Regions from separate parts of the Homo sapiens genome. Here regions 1, 2, 4 and 5 are each linked to region 3. Evidence: promoter capture Hi-C in human tissues and cell types (Jung and others, 2019). All regions are on one chromosome and are shown on one strand. Each heading gives the region's core, a stretch centred on a gene start or on the middle of the fragment in contact. The rest is flanking DNA. Distances are from core to core; before and after follow the strand shown.

Region 1 (2,700 bases), core at 53-2,552, 1.3 Mb after region 3:
AGAAGAAAACATAGGAGACAGGCAGAATAACAGCTCCTCAAAGATGTTTACATCCTAATCCCTGAACCTGGAAATGTGGCAGAAGGCACTTTGCAGATGTGATGAACTTGAAGATGTTGAAATGGGGGAGATGCCCCTGGATTATCCGGGTAGGCCAAGTGTCATCATAAGGGTCTTTATAAGAAAGGAGGGCTGGGTGTGGTGGCTCATGCCTGTAATCCTAGCACTTTGGGAGGCTGGGGTGGGTGGATCACTTGAGCCCAGGAGTTTGAGACCAGCCTGGGCAACACAGTGAAACCCTCTCTCTATAAAAAATAACAAAAGCTAGCCAGGAGTGGTGGTGTGCACCTGTAGCCCTGGCTACTTGGGAGGCTGAGGTGGGAGAATCACTTGAACCTCAGAGGCAGAAGTTGCAGTGAGCTGAGAACACGCCACTGTACTCCAGCCTGGGCAACGGAAATGAAACCCTGTCTCAAAAAAAAATGAACAAAAGAAAAAGAAGGCCAGGCGCAGTGGCTCACGCCTGTAATCCCAGCACTTTGGGAGGCTGAGGCGGGCAGATGACGAGGTCAGGAGTTCGAGACCAGCCTGGCCAATATGGTGAAACCCCGTCTCTACTAAAAATACAAAAAAAAAAAGTTAGCCGGGCGTGGTGGTGGGCACCTGTAGTCCCAGCAACTCGGGAGGCTGAGGCAGAAGAATAGCTTGAACCCGGGAGGCAGAGGTTGCAAGGAGCTGAGATCGCGCCAGTGCACTCACTCCAGCCTGGGCGACAGAGCGAGACTCCGTCTCAAAAAAAAAAAAAGAAAAAGAAAAAAAGAAGGCAAGAGAGTCAGAGTTGGAGAAGTAACAATGGAAGTGGAAGCAGGCGTTAGAGTGACAGGAGTGCTGGCTTTGATGAAGGAAGGGTCACAAGCTGAGGAGGGCAGATGGACTCTAGAAGCTGAAATAGGCAAGGAAATGGATTCTCCCCTAGAGCCTCCAGAAGGAACAGGGCTCTGCCTACACCTAGATTTTAGCCCAGTGAGAGTGATTTCAGACTTCTGACCTCCAGAACAGTCGAATAATACATTTGTGTCATTTTAAGCCATGATCCAAACTTGCTCTCTTCCCTGATGTGCAGTTTACCGCCCTGTGTCTGCCTTCTGTCTCCTCCGTACACTGGGTGATCCTCCAGAGGGCAGCAATCAGGTGTGACTCACATCTGCCCCATGTCTTCCCAGCCCCAGCCCCTGGGGGAGACGGTGATGCGAGCATGAGGGGCAGAGGTCAGTATGGGATCCATCTCATAGCCCTGCTTACCTCATAGTCTTGCTCCCCAGCGCCTCCAGCTGAACTGCCCACCAGCACCTCCACGAAAGCTGAGCCATCATTCCCAATGTCCACACTGTGTATCTGCTCCTCCTTCTCCAACTGTGGGCAGAGAGAGAGGCCACTGTCAGTGCCTGCTCTGCCTCTGGGCTCACTGTGGGACCTCAGGATGAATCTCCTTTGGATCACCATGTCCCTGTAATGTCAATTCTGTGAGGGGGCACACCAGGGTTGAATGGTGCCATGTGTCCCCTCCATGCAGCACAGGGTATGGCATGGAGCAGAAACTCACAAAATAGTCACTGAATGAATGCATACGCGCCCACCTCACACATACCTGCTTCCCTGACCTCTCCAGACTCCACCAGGTCAGCTTATCACACACTGCCATAGAGCTCTCCTTGATAAGCACTTGCCAGAGTTATAACTTTATTCAAATCATCATGCAGACAAACAGCACATGTCACCCCTCACCCACAATCGCAGAGGACTCCAGGAAACCTCCCTGAGGGCAGGGGCTTTGTCCGATCTTGCTCACCGCTGGTTCCTGGGTTTGAATCCCAGCTGTGCTGCACACTAGCTGTATGACCATACCAGTTAACCTTTTGGAGCCTCAGTTTTCTCATCTGTAAAATGGGAATGACCACCATATCTAGGATCATGCACATAAATAATGGCCACAGGGCATGGCGAAGAGTAGGCAATTATCTGCTGTCAGTCAGGAGGTATTATTAGTCAGTGCTAGACAACTATTTGTTGAAAGAAGAAAAGAGCTACCTATAGGAGGGCTCATCTCAAAGGATCTGCCATTCCTGTCTGACAGATGAAGATGCAGAAAGCCGTGCGGGCCATGCGGGCACGGGAGGCAGTTAGGTTGAGGCAAGTGTCCTGCCTTCCAGTTTGGGGCTCTTTTATTAGGATCCTAGAATGACGCATTATTACAACTCTCAAAGGTACCTGGGCCAGGTGCAGTGGCTCAAGCCTGTAAATCCAGCACTCTGCGAGGCCAAGGCAGTGGACCACTTGAGGCCAGCCTGGCCAACATGGCAAAACCCCTTCTCTACTAAAAATATAAAATATAGCCGGGCATGGTGACACATGCCTGTAGTCCCAGCTCTTCAAGAGGCTGAGGCACAAGAATCTCTTGAACCTAGGAGGCAGAGGTTTCAGTAAGCAGAGATCATGCCACTGCACTCCAGCCTGGGTGACAGAGCGAGACTCTGTCACAAAAAAAAAAAAAAAAAAAACCAAGGTACCTAGTCCACCCTACACTGCCCTCTCCCACCCCTGGTGATGACAGATGCTCCAATCTGCTCTGTTGCCTCCCTGTCAGATCATCTAGACATCACCTGCACACTGCTATCAACAGGAACACCACTGTATGGAAGG
Region 2 (2,700 bases), core at 65-2,564, 1.3 Mb after region 3:
CTCTGCCACTGTAGCAGGAAAGCAGCCACACACATTACAATACATAAATGAATGAGCATGGCTGTGTTCCAATAAACATTTACCAAAACACTAGGTAGGCTGGATTTTGCCTATGGGCTATAGTTTGTTGAGCCTTGACATGGATGAGTGGAGGATGGACAGACTAATCATAAATAAGGCTAAGAGACATGGGGAAAAATTAAGTTGAATCCCCTGGTATGTAGAAGAATGATCCCCCAAAGATATCCACATTTGAATCCCCAGAACCTGTATGTTAGCTTGCATGTAGCAAAAGGGACATTGCAGATGTGATTGAGATGGGTAAGTTATCCTGATTATTCAGATAGGCCCAATATAATCACAAAGGTCCTTATATGGGAAAGAAGGACGCAGAAGACAGAGAGAGGTGATCATGAAAGCAAACATTCGAGTGATGAAAGGCCCCAAGTCAAGGAATTTTGCCTACAAAGGGCAAGGAAATAAATTCCTCCTTAGAGCCTCCAGAAGGATTGCAGCCCTGCTGACACTTGATTTTAGCCCAATAAGGCTGATTTTGGACTACTGACCTCCAGAACTATAATAAAATTAACTTGTGTAGTTTAAAACCACTAAGCTTATGGCAATTTGTTACAGCAACAATGGGAAACTACTGCAGATCCCTACCTCACACCATATGCAAAAACAAGTTTCTGGGAGTTTAAGATCTAAATCTGAAGAGAAGAACTCAAAAATATTTACATGGAAATAAGAAGAATTATCTTAGTAACTCCAGAAGTAGAGACAGTATCCTTAAGAGACAAAAGAATGTAAATCATAGATGAAAACATGGGTAAATGTGACCATAAATGAATGTAAAGTTATGACTAGGATGGATGAGATATAGTATTTTAAGAGTGTGTACCTGGCATATCCTATTATACAGTGGAGGTTAGGAAAGGCCTTGTTGAGGATGTAATGTCTGAACTGAGATCTGAAAGTTGTGGTGGAAGGAGTGAGAGAGTAGAAAGTGTCCATAGATTGGATAAAGAAAATTTGGTACATATACACCACGGAATACTATGCAGCCATAAAATGGAATGAGATCACATCTTTTGCAGGGACATGGATGGAGCTGGAAGCCATTATCCTCAGCAAACTAACGCAGGAACAGAAAATCAAACACTGCATGTTCTCACTTATAAGTTGGAGCTGAATGATGAGAACACATGGACATGGCCGGGCATGGTGCCTCACGCCTGTAATCCCAGCACTTTGGGAGGTGGAGGCGGGCATATCACCTGAGGTCAGTTCAAAACCAGCCTGGCCAACGTGGCAAAACCCCCCTCTACTAAAAAACAAAAATTAGCTGGGCGTGGTGGCAAACGCCTGTAATCCCAGCTACTCGGGAGGCTGAGGCACAAGAATCCCTTGAACCCAGGAGGCAGAGGTTGCAGTGAGCCAAGATCATGCCACTGCACTCCAGCCTGGGCGACAGAGTGAGACTCTGCCTCAGAAAAAAAAAAAAGAACACATCAGGGGAACAACACACACTGGGGCCTGTCAGGGGGTGGGGGTGGGGGGCTAGGAAGAGCATCAGGAAGTATACCTAATGCACGCTGGGGTTAATACTCAGGTGATGGGATGATCTGTGCAGCAAACCACCATGGCATGTATTTACCTATGAAACAAAACTGCACATCCTGCACATGTACCCCCGAACTTAAAATAAAAGTAGGAGAAAAGAAAGTGTCCAGCCTAAGGGCTAGGACTGAGCAGGCTGCTGAACTGCACTCTACTCAGTAAGGCATTTCGGGGAAGGTTTTGGGAGGGGTAAGGGTTCTACTCTGTCCTCCCAACCCAGCAGTGCTGCTTGTATCCACGTTTATGCAGAGAACTGTCCGGAAGAATTTCTCCAAAGCAACCACACCAGCAGCAAAATTTCAAAGACACATACTCATGTGAGAGGGCGTTGATCTGGTCCAACCTTACTTTTACAGATTGGGGAAATGAGGCCAGGAAAGATGAGATTTATTGGCAACCAAACCACAGGGCAGTACCTGAGTCTAGGTGGATCCTAGGTCTCTTGATAGCCTGACACCCACCCAGCTGTTCCTTGAACACATAATGCTCGCTCCTGCCTCGGGGCCTTTGCACTTGCTTTTCCTCTACCTGGAAGGGCTCTCTCAGATACTCCTTACTTCTCCCAGGTCCCTGCAGAGGGGTAAGTCCTCCAAGAGGCCATCCCCAATCATCCTATCTATAAACTACCAGGACCCTGCCATTGCTCTGTCACTCACAATGCTCTATTTTCCTTGCTCTCACAGCATTTCCCACTGTCCAAGGTTGCATTGCACGTGCACCATCTCTCTCCCCCTGTACAATGTCAGGCCAATGAGATCGGGGACTACTGTTTTTTTCATACTGTCTTCCCAGTGTCCCCCACATGGTGGCTTTGGTAGGCAGAGTAATGGCCTCCCAAAGATGTTCACATCCCAGCTGGGCACAGTGGCTCACGCCTGTAATCCAGCACTTTGAATGGCTGAGGCGAGTGGGTCACCTGAAGTCAGGAGTTCGAGACCTGCCTGGCCAACATGGCGAAACCCCGTCTCTACTAAAAATACAAAAATTAGCTGGGCATGATGGCAGGCGCCTGGAATCCCAGGTACTCGGGTGGCTAAGGCAGAGAATTGCTTGAACCTGGGAGGCAGAGGTTGCAGTGAG
Region 3 (2,700 bases), core at 106-2,605:
ACCATCTGGTTGTAAACCCGTATCTGGGCAGCAGGCATCTACTACAAACAGGGCATCTCCCTGTCCTCCTCCACTCCAGTGTGATACCCTCCTACCCCTGGGATCTTTAAAAATCTGCCTCTGTCAGGGGCGTACACCCACAAAGTGTAGCTCTCCACGTAATGCAGTGCGAAGCCCCAAGAAGCGCTGCATTTCGTCATCTCGGCCCCCTGCCCCAATGCCTAGTGGGCTGTCAAACTGCGCTGTCCTAAATGTCAAACTCTTGGAGGAGGTGACCTGTCCCCCGGGCCCCAGGCCGCGCGCGTTGCCTATACTGCAGCGCGCGACACCCCACAAGCGCGCGTTCTCTCCCCTCCCGGTGGCAACAGGGCTTTCCGCGGGGCCGCGCCAGACTTTTCGAGACCGTCAATTGGTCGTAGTCCCGGCCACCCGGCAGCCAATCAACAAGGGGAAAGGTGACATCACTGGTTCTCCTCCCCTCCCCCAATCCAAACTTCCCTACTCCGTCTACCGGCAGCAACAACCACGTGGGGGAGGGGTAAGAGAGTAGAACCGGTGAGGTCATTGCACCGCCCCGGCCGCTGCTGATTGGCTGCGGGGCTCGCGGGTGGCGGTTGGCTGCTCCTTGCACCTCCCCCTCGTGCCGCTACCGCTGCCACTGAGAGGAGCCACCGGCGACGCCAGAGCCAGGAATACGGGTGAGTCGGGGCCCTGGGTCTAAGATACTCCTGGCGTCCAGTGAGACTCACGACGAACTGCCCTTTTCGACTTTTTCTCCTCGCCGGGTTTCTTTGGTGCTCCAAGCACTCTGTCACATGGGAGTTGTAGTCTGCCTTGTACTGTCGGCTATGGGCCGAAGACGTGAGAAGACTACGGTTCCCAGCAGGAACTGCGACTAGCCGGTCAACAAACGTTCGGGCCACGCCTTCTACCTCCGTTCATTGGACAACCCGTCCCTTAGCCCCTCCTCCTTTCATTTCATTGGCTACTGTCCCTCACAGAGGCTGGGTTCCGGCCTAGGCTGCATGGCGACTGGGTACTGTATTTGTCATTTGGAACTAAGACGGCCTGCAATTGGACACGACTGGTGTCCTTCACTTGTTGTAGGGTAGGGCCCTAGGCAGATCAGGCAGTCGTAGGCTCAGGTTGGTGTCGGTCCCGGAGGGAGGCCGGTCTTGGACTTTGGCCCCGCCCCCTAGCGCTGCCCGATGGGCCCAATTGGTCGCCGCGAGCGTCGCTCGTCGTCGAGAGGCGGAGCCGACCAGTCTGCGGATATCTATTGGTCTAGGCTGGCGCCGGTCAGTGGGGTTGTGATCGCTGATTGGCTGGCTGCTCCAGCTGTTGCAGGTCCATTCACCATTTTGTGTGTTGGAGTAAAAAAAAAAGGGAGAATCGAGAGGGAGAGCCGGAGGGGGGGCGGGGAGGGACCGGACCGGACCGAGCCGGGGCCACGGCCCCCCGCCCCGAAACCCCGCCGAGCCCAAGGTGAGGGGCGGGGCCAGGGCTGACACAGGAAAGGGGGGTCCGGGGGGCTGGGGGCCGAGAGGGGACAGGTGGCAGGGACGGGGAGGGGGTACAGGGGGAAAGGGGTGGGCGGAATGGTGGGAAGGGAGGAGGGAGTGGAGGAAGTGGTGGGGGTTTGACAGAAAAAGGGTAACTGGGGGAGGGGGTGGTGGGCAAAGAAGGGTAACAGGAATGGAGGGGTGACAGGACTAGATCAGGGTGACAGGGAGAGGGAGGGGACAGAGTTGGAGAGTGTGACAAGGAGAGGTGATGGGGAGAGAAGGTGACAGGTCCGGAGATGGCTGACAGGACAGTGACTGGGAGGAATAGGTGACAGAGATAAATGGGGGTGACAAGGAGGGGGTGACAGGAGGGGGCCTAGGGCATTTTAACCGAGAGGTAGAGATAGAGGTAGTGACAGGATGAGAGAGAGAGTGTCAGAGAAGCTGGTGCCAGGAGGGCTAATGGGAACAGAGGGTATGAGACCCCAAAGAGCCAGGGCCTGGGCTGGCCTGGGCTCCGGGAGTTACTACTCAGATCTGAGGAAGGTGAGGGCCCCCGGGGCTTGGGTGGGAGTTATTCAGACAGGGTGGACAGGAAGAGAGTAGGCCCTAGGGGAAAGAAAGCAGCTCTGGGGCGAAGAGAGGCTGGGCCAGGCAGCAAGGTCTAGGGGTCCAGGCGGCATAGTTGTAGGCCCTGGGTGGGGTATGCAAAGGTTTGTGCTTGGAAAAAACTGGAGCCAGATCTCAGTCCCCAACATGGTAGTCTAGTGGGTCAGCGGGTATTAGGTGGTGATGGCTGCCCAACTTCTGGGCATTTGGGTGCCAGCCCCGGGACGCCCTCCAGGCTCTGCCTGTGAGGACCCCAGGATTGGCCCAAGAAAGGGCAGGCCTGGGACTCCAGGGTCCACAGGAGGAGCAGGCCCCTAGTGAGAGAGCATGAGGTCAAGGGTCCCCCAGTAGCTGGAAGACTGAGTCGGGGTTGCCTCTCATTGTGTTTGGCTTATGGTTCTGGGTCCCCCAACCCTCCTAGAGGCCTCTGTTTTGGCCTCTCAGGTTCTCTTAGTCACTTCAGAGTAAAGTTTTTTCCCCTTTTCTTTTCTCAGGGCAGCTCGAAAGGGGGCGGGCAGTAATGACTGTTCAGGAAGTGGGTGAGGTTGGCCTGTTGGGCTTGTCCTGCTTTCTTTGACCTTATCCC
Region 4 (2,700 bases), core at 192-2,691, 1.4 Mb after region 3:
CCACGCCCGACTATTTTTTGTATTTTTAGTAGAGATGGGGTTTCACCGTGTTAGCCAGGATGATCTCGATCTCCTGACCTCGTGATCCACCCGCCTCGGCCTCCCAAAGTGCTGGGATTACAGGCGTGAGCCACCGCGCCCAGCCTACTTATTTATATTTTTTAAGAGACAGGGTCTCGCTCAGTTGCCCAGGCTGGAGTGCAGTAGGGTGATCTGTAGGAAAGGGGCTTCCAGGCCTTAACTCATGTACTCCCCCATAACCAGGTTGGGAGGTTAGCTCACTGTAACCTCAAACTCCTGTGCTCAAGGTACCCTACTAGCCCCTAGGAGAGCAGCTGGGACTACAGGTATGCGCCACCATGCCAGGCTTAATTTTTACTTTTTTTTTTTTTTTTTTTTTTTGTAGAGACGGGGGTCTCACTATATTGCCCAGGCTGGTCTTGAACTCCTGGTCTCAAGCGATCCTCCTGCCTTAGCCTCCCAAAGTATTGGTATCACTGCAACTAGCCCAAAGAATTAATATAGCTATGTTCCATGTGATATTTGGGACATACTTTTCTAAAAGGTTGTATCTTTTGGATATAATTGTTTATCTGAAATTCAAATTTAACTAGACATTGTATATTTTATACGGCAACCACACACCTGGGACAATCAAGACATTCCCTGAAGTTACCAGGAGACAATGCCCATCAGCCTACACTTTTCCAAGCCCACGTCACACAAGGCCCCTTCCAGAGTATTCCAGACGTCAGGTAGGGCCATCCCTTGGTTCACAAGTCCCACTCCTACCACGCCTATGGCAGCCAAACTGAAAGGCAAACACAGTGCTGGAGACCCCACAATGCCCTGGGCCTATAGCAGTCAATTCCCAAGATGCCCCGCGTGAACACAATAGGCACCCGTTCCAATGCTCGAGCAAAGAGACCAGGGCAAAACCTTCCACTACGGGACAATAACGGCCAGTTCCCACAATTCGTTGTGGCAGTTCTTCCCAGGATGCCTTAGGCCTATAGCGACCACCTTCCCAGACTCCCCGTGTGGAAGCGCTCCAAGCCTCCAGGACGGTCAGCGGCAGGTGTGGGATAAAAGGAACCGGTCTCGACAAGGATCTGGGACACTCTTTCCCAGGATGCACCAGGCCTACGACTAGCGGACCGACTCCCACAGCGCTTCAAGGCGGAGCGCTCGGTTCTCCCAGGATGCCCCAGGGCGGCACAAACGCGTAGGGGGAGAAAAAGAAGCCCTCGGGTCACCACGGCCCCAGACCGCCGGCTCCCCGGTGACGGGAGTCGTCGCTCCCATCATGCAGCGGGGCCGTAGCGCCCGCTTCCCGGCATGCCTCGCGCACCCCTGCCCGGGACACTCACCGGCGCCGGCGGCCCCCGCTCCGGCTCTGCGGCGGCGGCTGCACGCCCAGCCTCTGCGCCTGCGTCGCAAGTAGGGTAGGACAGCGCGCAGGGGGCGTGAAGAGCCTAGGGCGCTTGCGCGGCGAGACGGACTAGTCCTGTAGCGCTGTGGGAAGAGGGGCTATGCGCGTCGGGCCGTCGACGAGACCCGCGCGGGGGGCGCCGTGCTTTGCCCCTCGCTGCCTGGGTTTACTTGGTACAGCCCGCGGCCCAAAGGAACAAGAAGCTGAAGGGTTCGCGCGTGCGTGTGCGGGGCAGGAACGCGCCTTACAAAACTGGGATGCGCTGGGGGTGGAGGGCGCTAGTTCGGACTGGATCCTGGGCCCGAGGCCTGCTTATTTGCATAATCCTAGCGCGGGACAATGAAAGGCCTCCCGCACTGGAAGGAGTGATTTGCATATTCCCCGGAGGGGCCTTACTCCAGAGCGCAGTGATTAGCATATGGCGGGGGCAACCTGAGCAAAGCGCATGCGCGCAGGGACTGCAGACTGACGCGAAGTGGGTAGCCTTGTCTTCGTAGGGGATCAGTTTGCATCCTGAGAGAGGGCACGAGGGCCAGGACCCCTCCCAACCAGGATAAAGGTTTATTGATCTCCTAGGTGTCAGGCCCCATGCTGGCGGATTCTGTGGTTTCTGCAGTGAACCATACTCCTGTACTCACGGCACCCCAGTCGAAGGAGATACGCACCTAATTAGACAACTACTACCCAGAAGGTCAGACCTGGAGTGAGGAACACAGGGGGCTGTGGGAGCCTAAGAGGCGCTTGCCCCGGCCTCTGGTTCTAGAAAGACTTCCAGGAGGTGGTGATCCTTAAGCCAAGTACGAATAGGAGCCAACTAGAATGGGAATGGGTCTGGCAGAATGAACTGCAAGCGCCAAGGCCCAGAGGCCAAAAAAAAAAAAAAAAAAATAGAAGCGCATGTTTTGATTGAGGAAGCAAGAGCAGCTTAGTATGCCTAGAACCTAACTGGAGACGGGAAATGGTTCTATAGACGATGTTAGAGTTCAACTATGGCTACATTCCAGTCTTCCTGTAAGTGACTTTGTCACATTCTGGCTTAAAACTCCCCCAAAGGGATCCCATTAGGAAAAAAAAAAAATCCAAAAATCTTTATCATGGCCTCAGGGCTATACACCTGGTCTGGCCGTGCTTATCTTTCTGACCCCACCTACTTCCTCCTCCCTCCATTTCTGTCCAGCTCCACCTTACCCCAAACTCTTTACCAGCTCGGGCCTCTGCTCTTGCCGTTCCCTCCGCCTGAAAATGCTTTTCCCTCTGACCTTTGAATA
Region 5 (2,700 bases), core at 138-2,637, 1.5 Mb before region 3:
TGGCATTTAAGCTGAGATTCATATGACAAGGATGGAGCAGTTATGTGGAGATCAGGGAGAAGGGAGAATGCAAAGGCCTTCAGCAGGCACAAGCTTGCCATCTTCCCAGACCCTAGCTTTTAACTCCTCTTCCCCAGGTTCAGGGAGATTACTATGGAGATCTGGCTGCTCGCCTGGGCTATTTCCCCAGTAGCATTGTCCGAGAGGACCAGACCCTGAAACCTGGCAAAGTCGATGTGAAGACAGACGTGAGTGTCATGGGGGCTGGCAAGAAATGTGGGGGGAGGACCCTTAGGTTGTGGGGATGGGCAAAAATGCTCCCACACTTGGCTCCCTGGCAGCCTAGGTATGTGCGCTGGGAGAAATTCTTTCCCTGCCTCAATTTTCTCACCAGTAAAATGGGTCCAGTTGGGAGGTGCAAAGATTAGAGGGCTCTAGGCTAATTTGCATAGCACTTGTGTGGCCAGACCTGGGCCCTGCAGCTGCAGCCTTTGCTAAAACCACTAGATCCTTTGTGGTGTGACCGCTGGTTTTCTTTCCACTGTTTCCCCTTTCTCTTTTTCAGAAATGGGATTTCTACTGCCAGTGAGCTCAGCCTACCGCTGGCCCTGCCGTTTCCCCTCCTTGGCTTTATGCAAATACAATCAGCCCAGTGCAAACGGCTCGTCTCCGTGGTCTTTGGGGTGGGGTAGGGTAGGGTGGGGACTGTACAAATGAAATGTTTCTCTAGGTTGCTGAATCTAACCAATTAACCCGCTGCCTGTGGTAACGTCAGTGGTTGCTAGGCAGAGTTTCACTGATGAAAGCCCTGTGCAGTAGGAGCGCTCCTAAGCTTAGGTTTCGGACACAAGCAAAGGAAAACCTAAGCAGCCCAACTAGGGGATTGTAGTGTCCTCTCTAGACCAGTGGGAGGGAGCCAATCGGACTACGCGGAGGATATAAATCGCACAGTAAAGGTTTTCTTGGAAGATTATCTGGAAAGGGAGGTGGGAAGTAACCTGCGCCTATCTGCCCAGTTTTCCTCCTTTTCGCCTTTGAGAACAGTAATCGCTCCCGCCAGCTCAAGATCAGCTCCTCTTCCAGCCTCTTTCTGTCAATCCTGCCCGTGCCCCCTTCTTTGCATTTGTATCCCCTCCCCCAAGTCCGCTCCGATCCAATCCGGAGACTCGACTCTGCCCCCCGTACTCCAGACTAAATCCGTTCCTCGGCTCAGCTAAGCAGCTCTGCACGTCCCTTCCCACTTGCTCAGCCAATCGCTGGGCTCGGCCCCGCCCCTTTGGGCTTGGTCCTTCTCACGCCACCAATCCGCGCCTCTTGTCCCGCCCCCTGCCCGCGAGTCCGCCAATCCCGCCCTTCGGAAAGCGTCGCCTGGTATCCAGCTGCCGGAGCGGGTCGCGCCGGAGGGGGGCGGAGGCGGAAGTGGCGGTGCCGGGCCCGGGGAGTAGGAAGGAGCCGGGGCTGTAGCCGGAGTGGAGCGGCTGCCAGCCGAGGAGCAGGCGCGGCCGCGGCGCCATATTGCGGCCCTCAGCGGCCGCGACCGAGTCATGGCTGAGACCTACGGTGAGGGTGGTGGACGAAGCTGGGGTCCTGGGTCTGGGCCCAGGGAGGATGCGGCCTGTGGGAATGGGCGGGGCTTTGTAGATCAGGGGGCGGGGTCTGGTGTGATGGAGGCAGGACCTAAGTGGATGCTGGGAGGGGTTTAGTGGGTCTGAGGCTGAGCTTAATCGATTTAGGTGGAGCCTGAGGGTCTGGTGCGTGGGTTAAATAGATCTGGGGCGGGATTTGAGGGAGCTGGTCCTGAGGGGTTCAGGGAGGCCCTGAGGGAAGAGGTGGGCCTTAATGGATCTGGGCGGAGCCTGAGTGAAGGGGCGGGGCTGACTGCATGAATGGCAGGAGTCGGGCTTATGGGCTAGAGGGAACACTGAATGGAAGCTCGGGACCCTGGGGCTGATCTGGCTGGAGAGAGCTCTGGAATGGGTTTGGGGATGGGCTGTCCTTGAGTTAGGGGCAGGACTTAGTGGCAAAGGGTGGGACTTATGCATGAGAATGGAGCCGGGTTCTGGGCAGAGGGAGGGAAGGAGAGGTCGGGAAGTGGAAAATCAGTAGGGATGCACCATAGGAGGTGGTGATTGGAGGCAGGGGAAGTGCAGGTTTAGGAGTCAGAGGGAGCCGCATTCACTCAACAAATATAGAAGAGAAGGGAGAAGAGTGCAAAGACCCTGAGGTGAGAACCAGCTTGTCATTTTCAGGGAATAGACTGAAGGTCAGGAGCTATAGTGGAGTGAATGAGTCAGAGGGTGGTAGGAGGTGAAGAGGAACAAGGGCTATATCGTAGTCCTTGTTTAAATAGCTTTCAAGAGACTTTAGCGACAAAATAGCTAAGATCTGGGACTCTGGAGCCCTTGGCCTAGGTTTGAATCTCACTTCTGCCCAGCTGTGTCACTTTGGGCAAGTCAGTTAACCTTTCTGGCCTGTTACCTCATCCGGAAAATGGGAATAATTTTTAGTCTACCTCCCTCATAGAGTTTTCCTGAGGATGATGTGAGCTGTTGATGTGAGTAAAGACCTTTAGAACTGTTCCTGGCCCACAACAACACACAATTGACCCATGTAACAAACCTGCACATGTGGGCTGGGCGCGGTGGCTCATGCCTGTAATCCCAGCACTTTGGGAGGCTGAGGCAGGCGGATCACCTGAGG

Evidence for each region. Contacts are between HindIII fragments. The study calls those that stand out against the background at their distance.
Region 1: a contact is called between a fragment that was not itself captured here and the fragment with the promoter of CIC in region 3, in 1 of the 25 tissues and cell types used here (aorta).
Region 2: a contact is called between a fragment that was not itself captured here and the fragment with the promoter of CIC in region 3, in 1 of the 25 tissues and cell types used here (pancreas).
Region 4: a contact is called between the fragment with the promoter of ZNF428 here and the fragment with the promoter of CIC in region 3, in 1 of the 25 tissues and cell types used here (psoas muscle).
Region 5: a contact is called between the fragment with the promoter of RAB4B-EGLN2 here and the fragment with the promoter of CIC in region 3, in 1 of the 25 tissues and cell types used here (pancreas).

The regions. Positions count from the first base shown.
Region 1 is chr19:43,559,608-43,562,307 of GRCh38, forward strand. XRCC1 (X-ray repair cross complementing 1) reads right to left here. Exons shown (of 17, transcript NM_006297.3): 3 at 1,303-1,413. Among named protein-coding and RNA genes, the nearest start is that of XRCC1, 15 kb to the right of the region's middle. The HindIII fragment of the contact is 6,758 bases long and covers 1-2,700 here.
Region 2 is chr19:43,538,450-43,541,149 of GRCh38, forward strand. No RefSeq gene overlaps it. Among named protein-coding and RNA genes, the nearest start is that of ZNF575, 6.6 kb to the left of the region's middle. The HindIII fragment of the contact is 6,429 bases long and covers 1-2,700 here.
Region 3 is chr19:42,267,897-42,270,596 of GRCh38, forward strand. CIC (capicua transcriptional repressor) reads left to right here and starts at 1,356. Exons shown (of 21, transcript NM_001386298.1): 1 at 1,356-1,485. RefSeq lists an enhancer at 346-855. The HindIII fragment of the contact is 15,630 bases long and covers 1-2,700 here.
Region 4 is chr19:43,618,188-43,620,887 of GRCh38, forward strand. It overlaps ZNF428 (zinc finger protein 428), which reads right to left and starts at 1,442. Exons shown (of 3, transcript NM_182498.4): 1 at 1,371-1,442. It overlaps LOC105372411 (a long non-coding RNA gene), which reads left to right and starts at 874. Exons shown (of 4, transcript XR_001753942.2): 1 at 874-1,445. RefSeq lists an enhancer at 801-1,451 and a silencer at 1,256-1,495. The HindIII fragment of the contact is 11,511 bases long and covers 1-2,700 here.
Region 5 is chr19:40,776,832-40,779,531 of GRCh38, forward strand. It overlaps RAB4B-EGLN2 (RAB4B-EGLN2 readthrough (NMD candidate)), which reads left to right and starts at 1,388. Exons shown (of 12, transcript NR_037791.1): 1 at 1,388-1,560. MIA (MIA SH3 domain containing) reads left to right here. Exons shown (of 4, transcript NM_006533.4): 3 at 138-248; 4 at 566-659. The coding sequence ends at 589. It overlaps RAB4B (RAB4B, member RAS oncogene family), which reads left to right and starts at 1,416. Exons shown (of 8, transcript NM_016154.5): 1 at 1,416-1,560. The coding sequence starts at 1,545. It overlaps MIA-RAB4B (MIA-RAB4B readthrough (NMD candidate)), which reads left to right. Exons shown (of 10, transcript NR_037775.1): 3 at 138-248. RefSeq lists silencers at 550-679, 1,230-1,469 and enhancers at 1,530-1,599, 2,487-2,700. The HindIII fragment of the contact is 40,090 bases long and covers 463-2,700 here.